Linked DNA regions of Homo sapiens: region 2 is linked to region 1. Evidence: promoter capture Hi-C in human tissues and cell types (Jung and others, 2019). All regions are on one chromosome and are shown on one strand. The core of a region is centred on a gene start or on the middle of the fragment in contact, and the rest is flanking DNA. Distances in the headings are between cores, read along the strand shown. Region 1 holds the start of FRMPD1 (FERM and PDZ domain containing 1). Region 2 has its middle 41 kb from the start of FAM240B.

The links. Contacts are between HindIII fragments. The study calls those that stand out against the background at their distance.
Region 2: a fragment that was not itself captured here is called in contact with the fragment with the promoter of FRMPD1 in region 1 in 1 of the 25 tissues and cell types used here (dorsolateral prefrontal cortex).

The regions. Positions count from the first base shown.
Region 1 is chr9:37,648,447-37,653,107 of GRCh38, forward strand. FRMPD1 (FERM and PDZ domain containing 1) reads left to right here and starts at 2,508. Exons shown (of 16, transcript NM_014907.3): 1 at 2,508-2,648. RefSeq lists a silencer at 2,380-2,649. The HindIII fragment of the contact is 8,171 bases long and covers 1-4,661 here.
Region 2 is chr9:38,759,148-38,763,432 of GRCh38, forward strand. No RefSeq gene overlaps it. Among named protein-coding and RNA genes, the nearest start is that of FAM240B, 41 kb to the left of the region's middle. The HindIII fragment of the contact is 5,818 bases long and covers 1-4,285 here.

The sequences.
Region 1 (4,661 bases), core at 1,258-3,757:
AGGTGTCTTCAGCAGGAGAGTCACTGGTCAGGTCTGTGGTTGAAAAAGATCACTGGCAGTATGTGAAGGATGAAAATAGGAAAGACTGGAGGCGGTTACTACAGCCTTGGCAAGAAATGGTGAGGCTCCAACGAAAGCAAGGGCGGCAGGATGAGGGGGAGGAGACATGTGTAAGAGAAGTTAAGGAGACAGAGTTGATTGGACTTAGTGTCCAGTAGAGTATGAAGGCCAGGAAGAAGGAAGAGTCTAGACTGTCCCTTTGGTTTCTAGTTTAGGTGCCCAGAGGAAGGAAGTGCCACTACCAGTTGAGATAGGGAAGCAATGCAAAAGGGGTAATTTGGGGGTAAGATGTGGGTTTGGTTTTGGCTGTGTTGAGAGTGGGGCACCTGAGGGACATTTAGGCGATGTCCAGCAGGCAGTTGTGTCTCTGGGTTTGGAAGACAGAAGGTTTGGCTGAAACCATGCAGCTGATAGAATTGCCTGGTGAGAGTGAAGGGAGAAAGGCCAAGGAGGGACATGAGGGCAATGGTAAAGGAGGCTGAGGGGCAAGAGGGACCAGAATGAGAATCTGAGGAGAGCGGGGTTAGGGGCTGGGTCCGGCACCTAGAGAGGCTGACACTGACGCAGGTAGCTAGGAAATGGAGGGGGACAGGGCAAAATTCCATGGGGAACATTTGTACTCACCGGACAAGAGAATAGTTCTTATCTTACTTTCTGACAAGTGCTATGCTTTTTGGTGTTTAACTGCCTTGGAGAGAGTAATTTGATGATTAATCTTTATCTACAAAATAATTTTTAAAATTAAACTTTATTTTGAGAAAATTGTAGATTCACATGCAATTGTTAAGAAATAATTCAGAGAGCCAGAATACTTGATTTTTAAAAAGCTTTCATTATTTCCACTATGGCTTCAGAATCTTCCACCCTTATGGTGCTTCTGTCTCCTGGGGCAGAACTTTGTATACTACAAAGACGGGTGAGGAAAGCAAAAGGCTCACTCAGCCCGTGGATCTGGGTGGCAGAGGGCTGGGGCACTGACAGAAAAGGGAGCTTTGGGTGCAATTACGTAGGAGGTCTTTCAGCGATGGAGCCACTCAGGAGTTTCTGGATGGACTCCTGGATTTGGAAATGAAGGTCACAAAGGAGGAGCACCTGCCTTCATCCAGACGATGTTGGCTCCAAAGTGCTGCTAGTCTTCCCCCACCGCCCTTGGATGAAGGATGCACTTGTTAACATCTGCCTGTGCACCATCCCCAGAATGATCTAACATCCCAGTCTGATGGTGCCTCAACCCTACTCAGAACTCCTCCCATGAACCTGCCAGTGCACTGGGAACACGGTGCAAACTCCTTGACCAGGAATTGGCCCCTGCTGACTCCCCTGCTTTATGTCTCAACTCCTGCCACTCCCTCTGTGGGATCTCTCTCATCTTGGGGTCTTTGTTCCTGTGGTCTCAACCTGAAAGGCTCTCTCCACACTCCTCCCTTTCACTGGCCAATTCCACTGGCCTTTCAGGTTTCCATTTAGAGCATGCCCTCTCCAGGAGGCCTTCACTCAGTCAGTGCAGGCCTGAGTGGTGCCCTTGGCCCCGTGGGATTGGGTTATTGTTACAGGAACTGGACTGTATTTTAATAGTCCTAGACTGTACATTCCATGAGGACAGGGACTGCTTTATTAAAGGTGTATTGTATCTCCAGTGTCTAATGCAGGATATGGACCTCGTAGGTGTTCAGTAGAGTTCAGCACGGAAAATAGTGCACAGACACATGCATTTGGGTATCATGCTCAGAGAGGCGGTAGGACCAGAACCAGGGGAGTGGGTGAGACGGCTCAGGGGGTCAGAAAAGGGCTGAGTGCAGAGTCCCAGGGCGCTCCGGCATTTTAGAGCTTCTGGTTTGAGGAACCCTCAAGGAGACCGAGGGAGTGGCTGGAGAGGGCCGAGGAAAGCTAGGAGAACACAGTTTCCCAGCGCGGAAGGAGTTTACAGAGACAGGGGAGGTGGTCCACAGTGCCTACCGTGGGCCCACGCTCTCCCTCTCCCTTCAGCCGAACACCTGCGGGGCGTGGGGGTCAGGGGGCGAGTCCCCCAGGGCTCCCCGTAGCTGGGGCTCTTCCTGGGGAAAAGGAGGCGTGAGAAGGGGGTCGTTTTGGGAACTCTTCTGGGTTCCAGTTCTGGCCCAACCACCGCTGGTCCGGGTGACCTTGGGGAGTCCCTTTCCTCTCCCAGCCTCAGTCTCCCCCCTGGGTACTCAGCGGACGCTGCGTGCCCCGGCGGTGAGCTGAGGCAGGCGGCGGAGGCAGGGCCCGGGTGGGAGCGGGACCGCCCACTGCGGCGGGCCGGGACCTCGGAGCCAGCGGAGGCGGCGCGCGGGGCTCCTCCCCCGGGGCGGGGGTCGCGGCGCCGGCAGCTGGCGGCCGCGCAGCTGCAGCCTCAGCACCTGCCGCCGCCAGACGGCGCGGGCGCGGCCCGGCCCGGCCAACCCCTCCGGCTGCAGCCTCGGCGCGGGAGGCGGAGCCCGAGCCGAGCCCGAGCAGCGCTGCTTCCCGAGCCTTGGCCGCGACCGTGCCCGCCGCTGGGCGGGGCCGCCCTTCTCCGAGAGCGTCAGCCCGCTAGGTCCTTGTCCGCGCGGGCGGCACCTCCTCTGCAGGTAAGGGAGGGGTCCTGGCACCGCAAAGTTTTGGGGAGACGGCCTGTCCCCACACCCCGGGCCTGCGCCTCGGCTTCCTCCGCGCCGCCCTCCGCCTGCACCACCAGTCCCGGGTGACCCGCGCCCGCCTCCGGTCCTCGTGTCCCCAAGCCCGGCTCGGGGGCGCGTCCGTGGGCTAGCTCAGGACCTGCCATCGTGAACTGTTTGCACAGTAGCGATGTGTGCTTAAGTTTCCGAGATCTGCATGGTGTAGTGAGTGGAAACAGCGGCAACGCGGGAGGGGGAGAGACCTGGGTTCAGGTGCGGCCGCGGCCAGCGCCAACTTTCTGAGTGACCTCAGACCAACCCTCTCTGTCCGTCCTCGATGGCCACACCTGAACCAGAAGGGGTTCGCCAGGGACGATCAGCTGCAGTGCCAATGCCTGTGTTGTCATTTTTTGAGTAGAGGGGCATCCCTGAGTGTCTCAGCTCCAGAACTCATTGCGTGTGGAGAGGAATGAGCCACAGAAGTCAGTCTCCAGGGTCGCGTCGCTAACTTGCAGCAGCTTTGACTGAGCTTTAGTGGGGGCGTTGAGTCAGCCTCGGGAAGCAGGGGATGCCCCTAGGGTTAGGAGTCAGGACTCTGGCTTCTGGTGGCTCCTCTGCCATACACCCACTGTCTGTGTGACCTTGGGCAAGTGCCCCCTGCTTTTGCCACCTATAAAATAGGGTGGAAGTCGTGTTCACTAGTTGTTCGCTGTCTCTTTCAGCTGTAAACTCTGGAGAAGCGGAACCTCCGGATCTCTGCATTTAGTCAGTTTGGGTGGAGGCAATATTTCACCAAGAATCCATCTAGCACTTGCAAATGAACGTTTAGAAAATAAAGGAGGCATTTGCAGTTTGCTTTGGAAGTCCCAAAATAGACATGGGGAGGATTGGTGAACGCTCAGTTCGCCTTCTTCAGTGCTTTGGACCGTCATGAAATATTCAACGACATAATGATTTGTTTTCAAAGTGGCTTATAGATCAGGAAGCGTTTCTGTTTGTGAGTCGGTTATTTTTGTAAAAACCTCAGAATGGTTGTTTGGGAAAAAAAAATAATGCACTGTTCTAGGGGTCCTGACCTAGAGGCCAGCATCTACTTGTTTCTAGTCTAAGATGATGGTTGAGATGATTTCCAATCAAGACAATTTCGGGCATCCTTTGGTCGGTGTTGAGTATGGGTACGGTTAAGGAGCCAAGTTCATCTTTTCCAGGACTGGTGCATTCTGGCACAGTCACAGCAAAACAAGCACGAGGTAGTTAACTGTGATATGCTAGAAAGTGAAATTTATTCTTTTGCCCAATATCTTGTTCCCCTTGTGCTGCAATTAGTGGCTCCCCAGTGTGTGGGTGAAACGCATTACCACGAAAGGATTCTCACAGAAGTGATTTTATGATTTTATTTCCTTCCTCGACATCCTGGTTTTAAGTTTCTAGCATTATGAAATCAGAGAGCTGGTGAGGGTGTGCTTGGTGACCAGAGCAGAGTTGTGGTACCTAAGTTTGTCTTTCCTGAATGAGACCCCATCCTTGAAGCTAATTTGTCCAGAGCCTTTTATCTCTCTGACGCATTCAAATGCCACCAGTCTTTTCCCTCTTCATTCTCTATTGGTTCATCAAGCACTTTCTCACTACTCATTCGAGAGGACACAAACATGAAAATTACCAACAGGCCCTACCCTCAAGGAGCTTAGGTTCTGTTGGGGAATAGAGAGGCTTGTGCCACAGGATCTTCATTGTGGGCTTTATCGCCTGGGATTCCTGTGAACACTAAGGAGGGTGAATTCCAAGTGGAGATATTGGAGAAGGCTTTACAATGGAAGGTGGAGGAAGAAGAGGATTTCAACAGGTGGTGAGGAATAGAAAGGCTATGTGTAGGTCAAGGAGCTGGTACGAGCAAGGAACTGGTGAGAGCTGGGAGAGCATGAGACAGATGAGAGCAGTGAGCCTGGTGGAAGCACAGAGAAGGCAGAGCACTTCAGAGACAGGGCA
Region 2 (4,285 bases), core at 1,105-3,604, 1.1 Mb after region 1:
GTTCAAGTGATTCTCCTGCCTCAGCCTCCCAAGTAGCTGGGATTACAGGCACACGCCACCATGGCCGGCTAATTTTTGTATTTTTAGTAGAGACAGGGTTTCACTATGTTGGCCAGGCTGGTCTTGAACTCCTGACCTCGTGATCCACCCACCTCGGCCTCCCAAAGTGCTGGGATTACAGGCATGAGCCACCACACCCGGGCTGATCTTTATTATTTTTCTGTTTTTAATTTTATTGATTTCTGCTCTAATTTTTATTATTTTCATTGTCCTGGTTGCTTCAGGCTTAAATTACTCTTCCTTCTCTAGTCCCTATAGTAGATGCTTAGATTTAAAACAATTTTTTGGATCTTTCTTCTTTTCTGAACTATGCATTCAATGTATAATTTTTTCTCTAAAAACTGCTTTTACTGGATCTCACAAATTGTGATAAGTTGTATATTTTCATTTATTCAAAATATTTTTTGATTTCTCTTGAGATTTCTTCTTTGATCTTTGTGTTATTTAGAAGTGTGCTGTTTAATCTCTAAATATTTGAGGATTCCAGCTCTTTTTCTGTTATTGATTTCTAGTTACATGTCATCATGGCCTGAGAAAATACTTTGTATGATTTCTGGCCTCTTAAACTTGTTGAGGTCTGTTTTATAGACAATGGTCTTGGTGAATGTCCCATGTAAGCTTGAAAAGATTGTGTATTTTGCTGTTATTGAAGAGATTATTTTATAAATGTCAATTGGGTCAAATTTATTGATAATATTATTCAGGTCAACTATATTCTTATTGATTTTCTGTCTGCTGAATCTATCAATTACGGAATGAGGGGTGTTGAAACCTTTAACTCTAATAGTGGACTTGCCTGTTTCTTCTTGCAGTTCTATCATGTTTTGACTCCTGTATTTTGTACTTTGTTGTGAAGTGCATACATATTAAGCATTGTTATGCCTTCTTAGAGAACTGAATCATTTATCATTTTGCAATGTTCATCTTTAAACCTGATAATTTTCCTTTCTCTAAAGACTGCTTTGTCTGAAATTAATACAGCTACTCCAGTTGTCTTTTGATTAGTGTTATCATGGTATATCTTTCTCCACCTCTTTATTTTTACTTTACCTTAATATTTCACTTCCACTCTTCTCTTACTCCCATATTTCTGGCCAGAAGTTCACTGTAATTATTATCCTTGTACTTCTATGAGTCAGGTGTTTTTCCTCTGGCATCTTTCAATATTTTCTCTTTGTTTTGGTTTTCTGAAGTTTGAACATGATATACCTAGGCATAGGTTTTTTTTTTTTTTTAAATCCTGCTTGGTATTCTCTAAGCTTCCCAGATCTGTGATTTGGTGTCTGTCATTAATTTTGGAAAATGATCTATCTTTTTTCTCCATTATTTTAATTATGCTAGGTTATACCATTTGGAATCTTCTCACGGTTGCTGAATATTATTTTCTGTTTGTGTTTTTCATTCTTTTCTTCTCTTCATTTTAGTTTGGGGAGTTTTTATTGACATGTCTTCAAGATTTCTGATTCTATCCTTGGCCACATCTAGTCTATTGATGAGCCCATCAAAGGCAGTTTCACTTCGATTAGTGGTTATTTTATTTCTATAATTTCCTTTTTGATTGTTTCTTAGATTTTCCATCTCTGTGATTACATTACCCATCTTTTCTTGCATGTTGTCTACTTTTATCATCAGAGCCTATTATTTTAAATTCCCTGTCTAATAATTCCAAAACCTGTGTCATATCTGAGTCTGCTTCCGATGCTTGCTTTGTCTCTTCAGACTGTTTTTTCTTAACTTCTAGTAGCCCTATAATTTTTTGTTGAAAGCCACATTTGATATATTGGACAAAAGGAACCGAAGGAAAGAGGCCTGTAGTGTGAGGTTTTCTATTAATCTGGCTGAAAGCCGGCTGAGTTTAGTGCCTGCTGTAGCTGTAGCTAAGGCTTCAGATTTCTCTGGTGTCCTTGTTTTTCTCTCCTATTGTCTTTAGTTTTTCGTAAGAATTGTGCTTTGTGGCCTTTTCAGCTGTTTTCCACTATTATTGTGATGGAGCCCTGTTGATTAATGATAAGGTATAGGGGAGAGAAAGTGAGGGTAAGTGTTTATAATCTGAGGATCAAATCTTAGTTTTATGTAACTCCTGACCCTGGATGTGATCTTCACAAGTTTTGTGTGTCCCCCACTCCAACCCCTCACTCTTGATGAGACAGGAAATCTAAAGGGGGCTCAAGTGGGGGAAATGCCCTTCCTCCTAGGTGAGATAAGGCTCTGGTGACATCTTTTCTCCTGGAGACTAGGCTTTTGTTATGGAAAATGCTCTGGGCATATTTCAAAGCCACTACTTTTTCCCTCCCACTGACAGAGGCAGGAAGTGATGTTTCTTTGCTTTTTACTGTGAGAACCTGGTGGGGTTTCTGGAGGTAACACCCACAGAAGCAGTGAGGTCGTCTCAATGTTGTAGCCTTCAGGGTTTTCTTCCCCACACTCTGGTCCACAATCAGCCAACAGCAATTCATCACAATTACCGTTTTAGTATTCCTGCTAGTTTATGGCTCCAGTAGCCTCTGCTCTCGGGAAGCTGATCTCAGCTGTGATTTTGTCTGTCTCTCCAGATTCTGGGGTTATGGTCACTCTCTGTGACCTCAATTCTCTGATAAGTCCAAGAAAAGTAATTAATTTCTATTTTTCTCAGCTTTTTTCTTATTGTAAGGGCAGTAGTGACAACTTTTAAATTCCTTACATGTTGCAGCTAAAACCAGAAGTCTCAGAAGTCTCACTTTTTTAAAAAGGCTCTATTGCTGGCAATTAATTGTAACACCTTCAAAAAAAAACAAGTGTGCCATTTTATTTGGCCATGGACCCACTGCCACTAAAAACCAACATATTAGATAAGTAGCTAGTTCTGACTGATATAATTTAATCCCCTTTTAGAGCTTGCAGATTCTCTGCAGACACAGACCCATCGGAGAGATTCAATTCAATTTGCACATCTATTAGGCTGTTTGAAACAACGAGAATTCTGAAGCTGCCAAAACCCCACTTTCAATCTCCCCGCTGGACCTGCCTGGCATCTTTTCGTGGTGAGCCGTACACTGATGTGCTGTTTGGCAGACACTGTGCAAAGAGCTGCCCGGCTGTCTCCAGAGAGGGGCTGGGTGGGGCTGGGGCCTTCATTCCAATGTGCTTCAGCCACAGAGCTGTCGGCCCTCTTGCCTAACGAAATAGTAACTAGCCCTTGCCCTGTCTCAGAATCTAACATTACCTGCTTCTAATATAGAAAGATGTGATCTTTTAAAATTGTTGTTGCTGTTTTTGGTCTATTTTATTTTTGAAAATACTGTTTCGATATATGAAGCCCTTGTCAAGTTCACTTTAGCTAATTGTCATTTTGACGTACAAAATTTGAAGACTTTCTGTCATTTGAGACAGAGCAGGGATCCCTCTTGGGGTCTGCCGGGTCCCCCAAGCATGGAAATGAAGGAAATTCTTGAGTTCCTTCAAGGGAAAGTTGAGGCACCCAGCTAGTCCTGAGGAGTAGATGAGCAACTTGGTAAGCAAGAAAGTAATAGTGGCTTCAAACAATACCCAAGGAAGTTACAGCCACAAAATGTTTGGTGCCTTACAGAAACTAAAGAAAACATCTTAACCTGTGTCCCTGAGTAGTTTTTCAGAAACCTGGACCCCACCAAATGAAAAAGGCCATCCATGGCTCTTGGACCTCAGATAAGAGGGAACTGGGGACTGAACTCTGACTCTTCTTTGTTATAAATTTTTTCCTGAGGGGCCTGGTGGCCAGAGCTAACATTCTTTTCTACTGACCCCAGAGTTTTAGACAAAGCGTCACCTGTTAACCATCCACAGAGGAGAACATCTTTGCATCCACTTATGACCTGTGGCCCTCCCACCACCTGCTTGAAGATGACTTGGCTTTTGGGGTCCAAACCAATGTAGAGACTTCATGTATTGATTTACGACTTCGTCTGTAACTTCTGCCTCCCTATCTTTAAAAGCCCTTATTTTAAGCCATTGGGGAGTTCAGGTCTTAAACATGACCTGCCCAATTCTCCTTGCTTGGCCCCTGCAATAAATGCCTCACTTTCACTTTTTAAAAAAAATTTATTTATTTATTTATTTTTATTATTTATTTATTTATTTATTTTTTTTTTTGAGATGGAGTCTGGCTCTGTCGCCCAGGCTGGAGTGCAGTGGCGTGATCGCGGCTCACTGCAAGCTCCGCCTCCCGGGTTCATGCCATTCTCCTTCTTCAGCCTCCCGAGTAGCTGGG